Linked DNA regions of Homo sapiens: region 2 is linked to region 1. The links are contacts of gene promoters, found by promoter capture Hi-C in human tissues and cell types (Jung and others, 2019). All regions are on one chromosome and are shown on one strand. Each heading gives the region's core, a stretch centred on a gene start or on the middle of the fragment in contact. The rest is flanking DNA. Distances are from core to core; before and after follow the strand shown. Region 1 holds the start of RASGRP4 (RAS guanyl releasing protein 4). Region 2 overlaps ACTN4 (actinin alpha 4).

Evidence for each region. Contacts are between HindIII fragments. The study calls those that stand out against the background at their distance.
Region 2: a contact is called between a fragment that was not itself captured here and the fragment with the promoter of RASGRP4 in region 1, in 1 of the 25 tissues and cell types used here (bladder).

The regions. Positions count from the first base shown.
Region 1 is chr19:38,422,125-38,428,626 of GRCh38, reverse strand. RASGRP4 (RAS guanyl releasing protein 4) reads left to right here and starts at 2,408. Exons shown (of 17, transcript NM_170604.3): 1 at 2,408-2,558; 2 at 6,474-6,502. The coding sequence starts at 2,536. RefSeq lists an enhancer at 1,066-1,580 and a silencer at 2,473-2,532. The HindIII fragment of the contact is 24,204 bases long and covers 1-4,998 here.
Region 2 is chr19:38,700,763-38,707,264 of GRCh38, reverse strand. ACTN4 (actinin alpha 4) reads right to left here. Exons shown (of 21, transcript NM_004924.6): 3 at 6,144-6,263; 4 at 2,245-2,331; 5 at 1,134-1,221. LOC107985291 (a long non-coding RNA gene) reads left to right here. Exons shown (of 2, transcript XR_001753937.2): 2 at 5,101-5,341. Among named protein-coding and RNA genes, the nearest start is that of CAPN12, 40 kb to the left of the region's middle. RefSeq lists enhancers at 1,881-2,650, 4,260-4,760. The HindIII fragment of the contact is 6,256 bases long and covers 2,125-6,502 here.

The sequences.
Region 1 (6,502 bases), core at 1,159-3,658:
ACCCCAGCACTTTGGGAGGCTGAGGCGGGTGGATTATTTGAGACCAGGAGTTCAAGACCAGCCTGGCCAATATGGCAAAACCCCGTCTCTACAAAAATTAGCTGGGTGTGGTGGCACACACCTGTGATCCCAGATACTGGGGAGGCTGAGGCAGGAGAATCGCTTCAATCGCAGAGGTTGCAGTGAGCTGAGATCACGCCACTGCACTCCAGACTGGGCGACAGAGCAGGACTCTGTCTCAAAAATAAAAAAAAAAAATAGAAGTTAGCATGCCACCAGCCCGCTTAGTCACTATCCACAACACCTATCTCTAAATAAATAAATATATATATATAAGTCATGGAATTGTCACATAATGAAAGACTATATGGAATTATTATTATTATTATTATTATTATTATTTTGAGACAGAGTCTCGCTCTGTCGCCCAAGCTGAAGTGCAGTGGTGCAATCTCGGCTCGCTACAACCTCCTCCTCCCGGGTTCAAGCGATTCTCCTGCCTCAGCCTCCCAAGTAGCTGGGATTACAGGCACGCACCACCACACCTGGCTCATTTTTGTATTTGTAGTAGAGATGGGAGTTTCACCATGTTGGCCAGACGGGTCTCGAACTCCTGACCTCAAGTGATCTGCCCATCTCAGCCTCCCAAAGTGCTGGGATTACAGGCGTGAGCCACCGCGCCCGGCCAAAAAAAGGAATAAATTATAACCAAATATGATAACATGGAAGAACTGCAAAGACAAGACGTGGAGAGAAAGAACCCAGATTCAATACAGGAGTCCATTTTTATCCAGCTCAAAACAAGACAAAACTACTGCGCCAGACTTCGGGCGAGTGGGGATCTGTGGGAATTCGTGCTGGGAAGAAAGACAGGGGGCTTGTGGAGGGTGAGAATGTTCTGTGTCTGGATTTGTATGAATGTCACACAGGTTTGCTCAGTTGGTGACATTTCATCAACCTAAATACTTAATGATTCGTGATCTTTTTTGTACTTCAATTTAAAAAAAAGTGTCGAGCATGACACATTTAGGTAAAAAGAAAAAAATGCACACTCAAAAGAAAAGTCTGTTTCTAGGAGCACATGTTTATATGATGTGCTTAAACGCACAGACAGCAGTTTGGACGAAACTCGACAACGTGTCATATTGGTCACACCCTGCTTAAGAAAGGCAGGGGATGGGGAGGGGCTTCCCCAAGGCTTTACCTCCATCTCTAATGTTTTTTGATGTGTGTGTGTGTTTTTTTTTTTTGTTTTTTGTTTTTTGAGACAGGGTCTGGCTCTGCCACGCAGACTGAAGTGCAGTGGCACCATCATGGTTCACTGCAGCCTCGACCTCCTTGGGCTCAAGCAATCTTCTAGCCTCAGCCTCCTGAGTAGCTGGGACTACAAGTGTGCATCACTACGCTCAGCTAACTTTTTTTTTTTGAGACAGAGTTTCGCTCCTGTTGCCCAGGCTGGAGTGCAATGGCGCGATCTCGGCTCACGGCAACCTCCGCCTCCTGGGTTCAAGCAATTCTCCTGCCTCAGCCTGCCGAGTAGCTGGGATTACAGGCATGTGCCACAACGCCTGGCTAATTTTGTATTTTTAGTAGAGACGGGGTTTCTCCATGTTGCTCAGGCTGGTCTTAAACTCCCAACCTCAGGTGATCCGCCCACCTCGGCCTCCCAAAGTGCTGGGATTGCAGGAGTGAGCCACCACACCGGCCTAACGTTTTACATTTTTTGTAGAGACGGGGTTTTGTCACGTTGTTCAAGCTGGTCTCAAACTCTTAGACTCAAGCGATCCGCCTGCCTTGGCCTCCCAAAGTGCTGGATGACAGGCGTGAGCCCCTGTGAGCCCCCGTGCCTGGTCCGGTATGTAATTTTTTTTAAGGTAACAGTGGATTGTGTGAGGATTAAATGAGTTAATATTTTTAAAGTCCTTACAGCAGTGTGTGGTACACAGTAGGTGCTATGTGGAGGTTTGTTACAATAAAGTCAGAAAGTGAAAATGTTTTCCAGGGTACAAATGGTATCACTTAAACTAGGAATAAGAGACGCCTATGAAGAAATATACAAAATACTATGTCTTGTGAGTTTCCATTCAAACCTTCATGAATTATATATATGAATATGTCCTTCTAGACAGACAGACTTATCTTTTTGAGTGAGTGTGTGTGTTTTTACATAAATATCAGTCATGCTTTAAAAAGAAAAGCCCCTTCTTTTATTGAAGTATGACAGTGACGGGTCTCGACACCGAAAGATGGGGGAGATAGAGAGCCCGCCGGGGAGCTTGAGGGTGGGAGAGCCAGCGATGCCGGAAACCTCAGCAGAAGGGATCCCCGTGTGGGGGAGGGGGGCCTTCGGTCTCTCCCCAGCCTCTTCCTTCCCCCTGGCCTGAGGGTGGGTGGGGAGGGGCAGTTCCTCTTTCCTTCCCAAGCACCGAGGAGGCCCCAGCTCCCTAGGGGCTGAGAAGCTGGAGTCCTGGGCAAGGGGAGGAGCTGAGCCCTACTCTTGCAAGACCCCCGGCCTCCTCACCCCACGCGGGAAGCATGAACAGAAAAGACAGTAAGAGGTGAGAGGACCCTCCCCAGGGAGCCCGGCAGCACCCTGAGGCCTCCCTCTGCATGGGAGGGCTGGGGAGATCACTCGCCAGGGTGGCAGGATTCCTGACTTCTTTGGGATCAGGCGCAGGGGGGCCAGGTGGATGCTTCAGGGAGTCTGGAGCCAGCTACGGCTGCAGTCGCTTGTATGTGGCATCTGTACCGTGTTGTCCCTGGAGTTTGAGCTGCTCCGTGCCCCTTTTCCACTCCTCATCACCCCACCTCCATCCCTGGCCTGGGCTGAGTGTCTCTGCCCTCCCTGGGGGCTTCCTGGTTCCCCATCCCCGTGGACTGGAAACTCCAGGCTCCTGCAGGGCCTGGCCCAGGAGAGGGGAGTGTGGCACAGGGCAAGGCGACTCCCCTGCCTCTTAAACCACTCCTGGCTGTTCCAGACCCCTACAGGGGGCTGCAGGACAGGGCCTAGTGGCTGGCTGTGCGGCCGGTTCTGGAATGGGCTTCATCTCCTGGGCAAGCTGGCCCTTCTGTCCCCACAGAGGCAGATGGTGGGTGGCTCCCTAGCCTGGGTAACTCCTCCTGCCACCCCCAGCACCACTCTGATGGGCAAAGGGCTTTCCTCCCCACCCAGCAGTTTAGTGGTAGACTCCTGGCTGCCTAATTTCCTAGCTGTGTGACCTTAGGTAAGTCACTTAACTGCTCTGTGTCTCGGGTTTTTCTTCTGTCAGTAGAACAATCATATCCTCTACCTCGGAGAGGCCTGTAAGTACTCAATGAGACACTCTAGACCAGTGGTTCTCAAACTGGAGCGAGCCTCAGAACTGTCTGGAGGGCTTGTAAAATACAGGTTGCTGGGCTTACCTTTAAAGTGTTTGGTTTTTTTTTTTTTGTTTTTTTTTTTTGAGACGGAGTCTCGCTCTGCCGCCAGGCTGGAGTGCAGTGGCACAATCTTGGCTCACTGCAACCTCTGCCTCCCGGGTTCAAGCGATCATCCTGCCTCAGCCTCCCAAGTAGCTGGGACTACAGGTGTGCACCACCACACCCAGCTACTTTTTTGTATTTTTAGTAGAGATGGGGTTTCACCATGTTGGGCAGGATGGTCTCGATCTCTTGACCTCGTGATCCACCCACCTCGGCCTCCCAAAGTGCTGGGATTAGAGGCATGAGCCACCACCCTTAGCCTTAAAGTGTTTGATTTTGTAGGTCTGGGTTGGGACCTGAGAATCTGTATTGATATCCAGTTCCCAGGTGATGCTTTTGGTACTAGCTGGGTGCCCACACTTAGGGAAATGCTGACTTAGTTAGAATGCTCCTTCCTTAGCCTAGGACATATATAATACTTTAAAATGTCCCTTCTAGTAACGATGGCTCATGCCTCTAATCCCAGCACTTTGGGAGGATAAGACAAGGAGAACTTGAAGCCAGGAGTTCTAGACCAGCCTGAGAAATATAGTGAGACCCCCCCCCCCATTGACACACACCCAAACACACACACAAAATTAGCTGGGTATGGTCGTGCACACCTGTAGTCCCAGCTACCTGGGAGACTAAGGCAGGAGGATCACTCGAGTCCAGGAGTTCAAGGTTACAATGAGCTTTGATTGCACAACTGTGCTCCAGCCTGGGAGACAGAGCAAGACCCTGTCTGAAAAAGGGTAGAGGTGGGAGCCTGGCGTGATGGCTCACACCTGTAATCCCAGCACTTTCAGAGGCAAAGGTGGGAGGATCAGTTGGGCCCAGGAGTTTGAAACCAGCCTGGCCAACATGGTGAAACCCCATTTCTACTAAAAATACAAAAATTAGCTCGGCGTGGTGGCACGTGCCTGTAGTCCCAACTACTTGGGAGGCTGAGGCAGGAGAATTGCTTGAACCCGGGAGGTGGAGGTTGCAGTGAGCTGAGATCGCACCACTGCACTCCAGCCTGGGTGACAGAGTGAGACCCTGTCTCCAAAAAAAGAAAGAAAGAAAGAAAAAAGAAATCCCTGGAGAAGGTCCAAGGACTATCCTCATTTTTCCTTCGAGGAAATTGAGCCCCAGAGAAATTAAGTGACTAACACGAAGTCACAACAGCTGGCAAAAATTTCTGGATTCTACTTTCGTCTGAAGCTTGGATTCAGCAGCCTCCCTGCTCCCACCATCCTTGTCTCTCCATTACCCTCTTCCCCTATCAGGAACAGCAGCCTCTGGGAGGCACCAGGCAGAGGGAGAATTATTATTACTATTATTACTATTATTATTATTATTATTTTGAGACTAAGACTCGCTCTGTTGCCCAGGCTGGAGTGCAGTGGCACGATCTCGGCTCACTGCAACCTCCGCCTCCTGGGTTCAAGCAAGTCTTCTGCCTCAGCCTCCTGAGTAGCTGGGATTACAGGAGCCCACCACCACGCCTGGCTAATTTTTGTATTTTTAATAGAGATGGGGTTTCACCATGTTGGCCAGGCTGGTCTCGAACTCCTGACCTCAAGTGATCCACCCACCTCAGCCTCCCAAAGTGCTGGGACTACAGGCGTGAGCCACTGTGACTGGCCTCTCTTTTTAATTTTTTTATTATTATTTTTGAAACAGAAATCACTCTGTCACCCAGGTTGGAGCACAGTGATGCAGTTCCGGCTCACTGCAGCCTCCACCTCCTGGGTTCAAGCGACCCTCCTGCCTCAGCCTCCTGAGTAGCTGGGATTACAGGCGCCCGCCATCACGCCTGACCAATTTTTGCATTTTTAGTAGCGATGGGGGTTTCACCATGTTGGCCGGGGTGGTCTCGAACTCCTGGCCTCAAGTGATCCACCCACCTTGGCCTCCCAAAGCTTTGGGATTACAGGCGTGAGCCATCACACTGGTCCAAGAGCCTTGCTCTCTTGAGGGCTGTGGGAGGAAGGAGGGGAGGGTGTTAGAGACCAAACGGGAGCCCTGAGGAGGCAATTCCTGAAGGCAGGTCCTCCCATGCCTCTGCCTGGGGAGGACAGAAGAGATTCCAGGGGTCTTCTCCCGAGTCCCTGGTAGGCCAGGAGTAATCCTGGGATCTGCCAAAAGGAAGTCTCTTCCAGGATGCCCTGGAAGCAGTCAAGAGGAAGTTGGGGGCAATGCCTGGGGAAGGAGTTCTTATGATTCCCTGAGGGGTCTTGAGTGGTCCCAGGGGTCTTCTACTGTGATTCCCTGGGAGATTCAGAGCAGTCCTGAGCGGCGGTCCCCAGGCTTTTTGGCATCAGGGACCAGTTTTGTGGAAGGGGGTGGGGATGGTGTGGGGATGATTCAAGTTAATTACATGTATCCTGTGCTTTATTTTTATTATTATTACATTGTAATATATAATGAAATAGTTACGCAGCTCACCATAATGGAGAATCAGTGGGAGCCCTGAGCTTGTTTTCCTGCAACTGGATGCTCCCATCTGGGGGTGATGAGAGACAGTGACAGATCATCAGGCATTAGGCATCAGGCATCATAAACAGCACGCAGCCTAGATCATCAGGCATCATAAACAGCACGCAGCCTAGATCCCTCGCATGTGAAGTTCACAATAGGGTTCATGCTCCTAAGAGAGTCTAATGCCCCAGCTGATCTGACAGGAGGTGGAGCTCAGGCGGGGGTGCTTGCTTGCCCGCTGGTTCCTAACAGGCCACGGACTGGTACCTGTCTGTGTCCCAGGGGCTGGGGACCCCTGGTCTTGAGGATCTTCCTCTCTGATTCCCTGAAGGGAGCAGGAATATCCCTGGGAGTTTGCTTGTGGGAGAGGGCTCCCATGATTCCCCCAGGGATCTGGAATATTCCTGGGGATTCTCTCTAGAGTCCCTGGTAGGTCAGGGGTAACCCTGGGGCTTTGCCTTTAGGAAGCCTCTCCCGTGGTGCCTTGGGGCATTAGAGTCAAAAGGAATTCTAGGGTCTGTCCGAAAGAAGGTGCTCCCATGACTCCTTGGGGGCTGTGCCCACAGGAAGTCCCACCAGGAATGCACCGGAAAAA
Region 2 (6,502 bases), core at 4,003-6,502, 280 kb before region 1:
GCTAGATACTTACTAGTTGAAGAAAATGAATGGAAACTATAGAAAGATTCAGTCAGTTAGTGGCAGGAAAAAAAAGAAGACACACAGAGAAGAGTGACCAAGGGAGGGACCACATGCTATCAGGGTGAGCACGATGGGAAAAGCCCTCTGTACCCAGCAAGGGTCCCAGAGAGCCTGAGGCCGCTGCAAACCCCATGAGGCCCTGCTCTTCATTCCTGTGCGGGCCATCCAGGAGACTCAGAGGGTGGAGCCACAAGGCAAACCGGATCTGACCTCAGGACCGCCCCCAGAGCCAGTGCTCCCAACCACCAGGCAGGCCTGCCTCTTGCCGCCCCCTGGACCTCATGCGGCAGTGCCCATGCTCGCCTCAGCTACGGGGATGGTGGACATGTCTCATCTCCCGCTCACCCTGAGGGAAGCAGGTTCATGGTGGAGCTGAGGCTTGTTCATCTTAGCAGCCACAGAGTACATTTTTCCCCAACACTAAATTTACTAGCAATTCTAAAAACAATTCACTCCTGAGCTGTCAAAATAAAGGAAGAGGCCAGAGGCAGGCAGTGGCTCACATCTGTAGTCCCAGCACTTTGGGAGGCCGGGGTAGGAGGACTGCTTGAGCTCAGGAGTTCAAGTCCAGCCTGGGCAACATAGGGAGACCCTGTTCCTACTAAAAATAAAAATTAAAAATTAGCCAGGTGTGGCTGCATGCACCTGCAGTCCCAGCTACTTGGGAGGCTGAGACAGGAGGATCACTTGAGCCTAGGCCAAGGCAGCAGGGATGAGTGATCACACCACTGCCCTCCAGTCTGGGTGACAGCACAAGACCCTGTCTCAAAAATGAAAAGCTTTATTGTTGCTTCTGAGAGTCACCTTGCCTGGGGACGAAGAACGTTCTATTAGGCCGGCGAGAGGGCTGACCTTACTGCCTTCAGCCAGGATGGCTGGGAAACTGCCTCCTCTTCCTCAGAGAGGACCAGGTGACCTTCCCATGGGCTTGTAGGGCCCGTGGCCAGGGAGGGGCTGACTGAGGGCTGGCATCTCACAGACCACGACAAAAACACAGCAAACAGGGCAGGTGGGAGGAAGGATCTCAGGTTCCTAGAGGAAAGGAGAGGATGACCAGGACTGGCGCTTACCTGATGTGGAAGTTCTGCACATTGACGTTCTTATACGGGGCTGTCTTTCTCTGGCACCAGAGAAGGAGCCCTTCCTTGGCCGAGGTCTCTGCAAAACACACAAAGACAGTGAGCACTGGCTCAAAAATAAACCCTCAGAACTCAGCCCAAGTTGGATGGGACTTTCGGCTCAGGCCTGGGGTCAAACGAAACCCAAGGGGAGAGGATATCTGTCCTAACAACAGCAGCAGTGATAGCAGCGGGACAGCCACTCCCATTCCGGATGCAGACGGATGCTGCCAGGCCCAACTGCCAGGACACACGGCCCTGCTTAATCCTCACGGCCCCGAGGAGAGTCGCTTGACCAGGGCTGCCCCAGGAGGTGGTGGTGTCAGGGCCTGAATCTGTGCCATGTGCCTGGCCACCAAGCCTGTGCCTTTCACCACCAGAACACACTGCAGACAGGCCCTTGATACCGGCCTTGGCCTCTTTTGAACAAGGTGAAATACCAGCTGTAGAGAGGCCTAGGGGGCCCTTCTGTTCCCCGTGGATAGCTCGGCTGTCCTCACAGACCGGGAGCCCTTCGAGGGCAGGAAGCACATCTCTCCCAGTCATCACTGCGACCTGGCACCTGGGAGCCCCTGCACGCTAGCCCAGGTGGCTCTGCCCATCCTGTGTGCACACAGGTGCTTGCAGGGAAGCGAAATTGTCCATTCCTGGACGGCCTGAGCTCATAACGGGTCCATGGGGGCCAAGTTTCAAGGATGGGGATGTCAAGCAGACAGAGAACCAGGCCCAGGCCCAACTCTCTCACTAGTCTGTTCTGGGACTTGGGTTCCTGGACTGTAAAACGGGCCCAGCCATCCTAGCCCATCTCATGAGGGTGGCGTGAGGGTCCACTGAGATGAGGCTGTGAGAGCAAAGGCACTCGGAAGGCACTGGAGCCAAGAGGCAGGCAGCTGGGAGGAGCCTCCCTTCACCTGCCACCCACTGACTACCCCTGCAAGGGCCAGGCCCTGTGAGTGACCCCAAGGAAACAGGAAGAGGCTTGAAGCATGAAGATCACACTTCAGCTCTCCTCTAACCCGCCCTGACTCAGGTGGGAAGCGGGGGCAGTACAGGTGGCTGTCACCTTCCACGGAGATGTCCTGGATGGCGAACCTAAGGATGATGGTCCAGATCATTCCCAGGGTCATCTTTGCGTTGCCGTCCACAATCTCTGCACACAGGGAAGGGGGCAGAGGGCAGAAGGTCGTTAAAACCAGAGTGAGGCTCCTCCGCCCAACCTGAAGGTGGCCTTCCAGCCCCATCTAGAGAAAGGCTCCAAACCACCCCCTGGTTGCATCTCCCAGGCCTGTCCTCCTCCACCTCCCTCAGGAGAAAATGCAGGGAACAGTCTCTAGGCAGCACTGTCCCAGAGCCTCCTGCTGCTGAGCGCCTGCAGGCTTCTGGCCACAAGGGTCCCTGGCCCCGCAGCCAGCTCCTTCTCCTGACCCAACTCAAAAAACCGCTCCTCCAAGAGGCTGGTCCCAGGCGTGTGGCCTCTGTTCACACCTCTCTCAACTCTCAGTGCTCTGTACATTTCTGCCGTAATCTGCGTACCTCCTGACTACAGGGGGGCACCCCGGGCCCCCACTCTCAGGGCAAAGGTGGTCTTTTTCATCTCGCAGTCAGCAAATGTGCACTACATTATTGTTTATTGTGAATCTGTCCACTTCCTTCCAATCCTACTGCCGACACTCTCCACCAAGCCACTGTCATCTCCAGAGCTCAATGCGGCTGCCTCCTATGTACCCTTCCCGCCCATAATCCACATCGACACAGCAGCGAGCATGGTTGGTTTCCTTCTTTTGAGACAGGGTCTGGCTGGCTGGAGTGCAATGGTGTAGTCATAGCTCACTGCAGCCTTGACTGCCTGGGCTCAAGCAATCCTTCTGCCTCAGTCTCCCGAGTAGCTGGGACCACAGACGCATGCCACAACATCTTGCTAGTTTTTAAACTTTTTGTAGAGGCTGGGTCTTATTATGTTACCCAAGCTGGTCTCAAACTCCTGCTCAAGTGATCTTCCTGCCTTGGCCTCCCAAAGTGCTGGGATTGCAGGTGTGAGCCACCATGCCTGGCCCACAGGGAAAGGGCTTGCCCTGAAGGCCCAGGCCCTGCCATCCTGCTGGAATTCTCTAGCTGCATCCTCTGGGCAAGCCAGGCTCTTTCTTGCTTTGATACGCTCTGTCCACTCACAAAGCACGCCCCTAGCCTGCGACCCTCAACTGGCTGGTCCTTCTCATCGTGTAAGCTTCTGCTTGTGTCACCTCTCGTGGTGGCTTCCCTGACTGCCCGTCCCAAGGAGCTCCCCAACCCGCCACCCAGTTCCTCTCCCTGGCCCCTGTGCTGCCCCAAGGCATCACTAGTGAAATCACATGTTGGTCGGGCTGTTTACTTGTTCACTGTCTGCCTGCCCTCGTGAGGGCGGGGCTGCTCTGACCACCACTGGATCCAGTGCCTGGAAGGCCAGTGAGGAACAAGCATGGCTGCTGTGTTGTCAGGAAGGGGAGAGCACGGGCCTGAGGCCAGACTGCACGCTTTCTGAACTAACCTAAAAACAAACATTTGCGGCCGGCTGTGGTGGCTCACGCCTGTTTAGTCCCAGCAATTTGGGAGGCTGAGGCAGGTGTGGATCGCCTGAGGTCAGGAGTTCGAGACCAGCCCGGCCAAGATGGTGAAGCCCCGTCTCTACTAAAAACACAAAATTAGCCTGGCGTGGTGGCGGGTGCTTGTAATCCCAGCTACTCTGGAGGCTGAGGCAGGAGAATTGCTTGAGCCCGGGAGGCAGAGGTTGCAGTGAGCTGAGATTGCACCATTGCACTCCAGCCTAGGTGACAAGAGTGAGATTCCATCTCAAAAAAAAAAAAAAAAAAATTGCTGAAACTTCTCAAAAGAAGGGCTTGGACCACACCTTCTTCAGCCTCAGTAACTTAAGAGAAAAATCATCTCTGCAAGGCCCAGGACAGCTGTGTGTCTGCGGCTGGGTGAGAGAAGGCAGTGCCTCATCCCAGAGTCCATCAGCCAGCCGTGCCTAGGGCAGTCCTCCCAACTTGTCAACACGCCATATGCAAGGGGCATGATGGAGTGGCTTCCAAAGAAGACAGAGGGGCGCCACTGCTGCAAGCACTCTCGGGGAAGGGCTGGGCACAGGGGTGAGTTCCAAAGCTAACTGCAGAGCTGGAGGCCCAGGACACCACAGGAGACCCTGCTCACTGACCTCTGAGCAGAATACTCCAGGGCAGGCTTGCTTGGAAGCAGGTGGAGAGGTCACAGAGAAGATGGGGCTCACCTTCCCCCGGGGACACACCCAGAGGAAGGGGGTGTCCATGAGCCACAGCTTTCGGGTTTTGAGAGGAGGAAATATGCTCATTCTGCTGCCCAGAGACAGGGGAGGGACCCAGTGTCCACCCTGTCCTAGGGTTCAGAGCCCCAGACCCAGAAACTGAGCAGCACCACCTGCCCCTTAGTGCAGCGAGGCAGCTCGAGCCTCAGGAAATCTATTCTGTGCACCTCCTGAGGGCCGGGCCTGCAGAGCTGGGCAAGGCCGCAGCTCCCCGGCTCAGCAAGTACAGGTGCAGCTGGTAACGGAGGGCTTATGGAGTTCCGGTGAGGAGAGGAGGATGGCGTTTCTCATGACACATCCACCAGCTGCTTCTCTGACCTGCAGCTGTGCCTCCGGCCCCTCTCATCACCCCCACGGGAAGCCAATGCTCCCGCGAATGCCCAATCATGTGGAAGGACAGGGGGACAGGGTGGGGCGGGGTTCTCAGGTGCCTTGAGCCCCAGGAACGCCTCCATTAGGCTTTGTTCCAAGGCCCCACAGTCACAGGGATTGGGAGTGAACCAATTTGGGCATGAACAGAGAACATTTTTAGACCAAGTTTTTCTCCAAATGAAAACTGATGACTGACATGGGTCTCTCCTCTAACCCCTTCTGTATTTACAGACTAGCATTTGAGCAAAATAAATGCAGCTGTGAGAAGCAGAAGGCTGGAACAGAGCCTGGAGGAAAGACCCATGCAAGGACAGAAAATCTCAGGGCCTGACTGAATTTTTGGGTTGTGATTTTTTTAAACAAACACCAACCACCTCGACTGTGGCATGCAAGGCTTGGCACCCCTCATCGCAGAGGTCCTGGGCCGGGGCAGAGCCTTGGAACTCAGCACACACATTCTGGCCCGGAGTCTTGGCCAAACTCTCAGAGCCCTGTCATTAACGGCAATTAGTTTACTTTGTTTTTCTAGAAGCTGGGACAACATGGATGTCAGGGTGAAGAAATCTTACTCTGACTAATGAGTGGACTGCGAGCTCATGCTGCTGGGGCTCCATCAGGCCTCGCCTGTCTCTAAAAGCGCCTGGGAGCTCAACCCAGGGGCCCCTGCTGAGAGCCTGCTGCTCTAGTGAGGGCCTGCAGGTAGTGGACTGTGGTCCTGGTTATCTACGTGGGGCCCAGGAGGATCCTGGGGTGGTCAGAGGCAAAATTCTCCAAGCCCATGCACACAGGGCAAAGTCTAGGCACTGACCTTTGGCCGTGCACTCCCTGTCCCAATGCCTGACATGGGGCCTCCAGTCCTTCTCTGATACCGGGCAGGGCATAATGAGAAAGGTGTTCCTGGTACAGAGAGAGGCCATGGCACATGTTTGTCACTGTCTGCTGAGCCTGGCACAAGGAGAACCAGTGAGGGCGACCTGAGTCCGAGTCAAAACCATTCCTCCCCCTGCAGAAGCCGTCGCCCCCGTGGTTGGGTGGGTTGCACTTCCTAGATTTGGACTGCGCCCACCGGATTTTTCCAAGGGTTTGGGGGAGCTTGTGGGCCCAGCATCATATCAAGAGCAGTTGTTGTGATCACTGCTGAGTATGTACTGGGGCTCTGAGTGCCCCAAGCGCCCTGCCACCAACAAAACTTCTCTTCAGGATGCAGATGTTGTGCTTCAGAGCCTAAAGGTCAGAAACCGAGCAGGACCCTCGCTGCCCCACCTCCAGCTCACCTTCTGCCCCGATGGAGACCAGCTTGACGCCTTTGCTGGCAATAAAGTCCAGCGCTTTGTTCACATTGTTGATTTTGTGCACTCTCATCTTCCCCCGCTCCGGCTTAGGTAACCGCTCCCCTGAGAAGTGCACAAAGAGAAAAGAGGGGGCGAGACAGAGAGAGAGAAAGGGAGAGAGGGCGAGAGGGAGAGAGGCTTTAGAGTCTCCTCTGTTCTCCAAAAGCAGGTTCCTCTGCTGGCCCACCAGGCCACTCTGGCCCCACCCATCAGACCACCGTGCAGCTATTAAGGGGTGCCCTCTCCTCCCCAGGAGCAATGGGACAGCTGGGTGGGCAGGGTCTCTGGGGACCGCTGTGGCA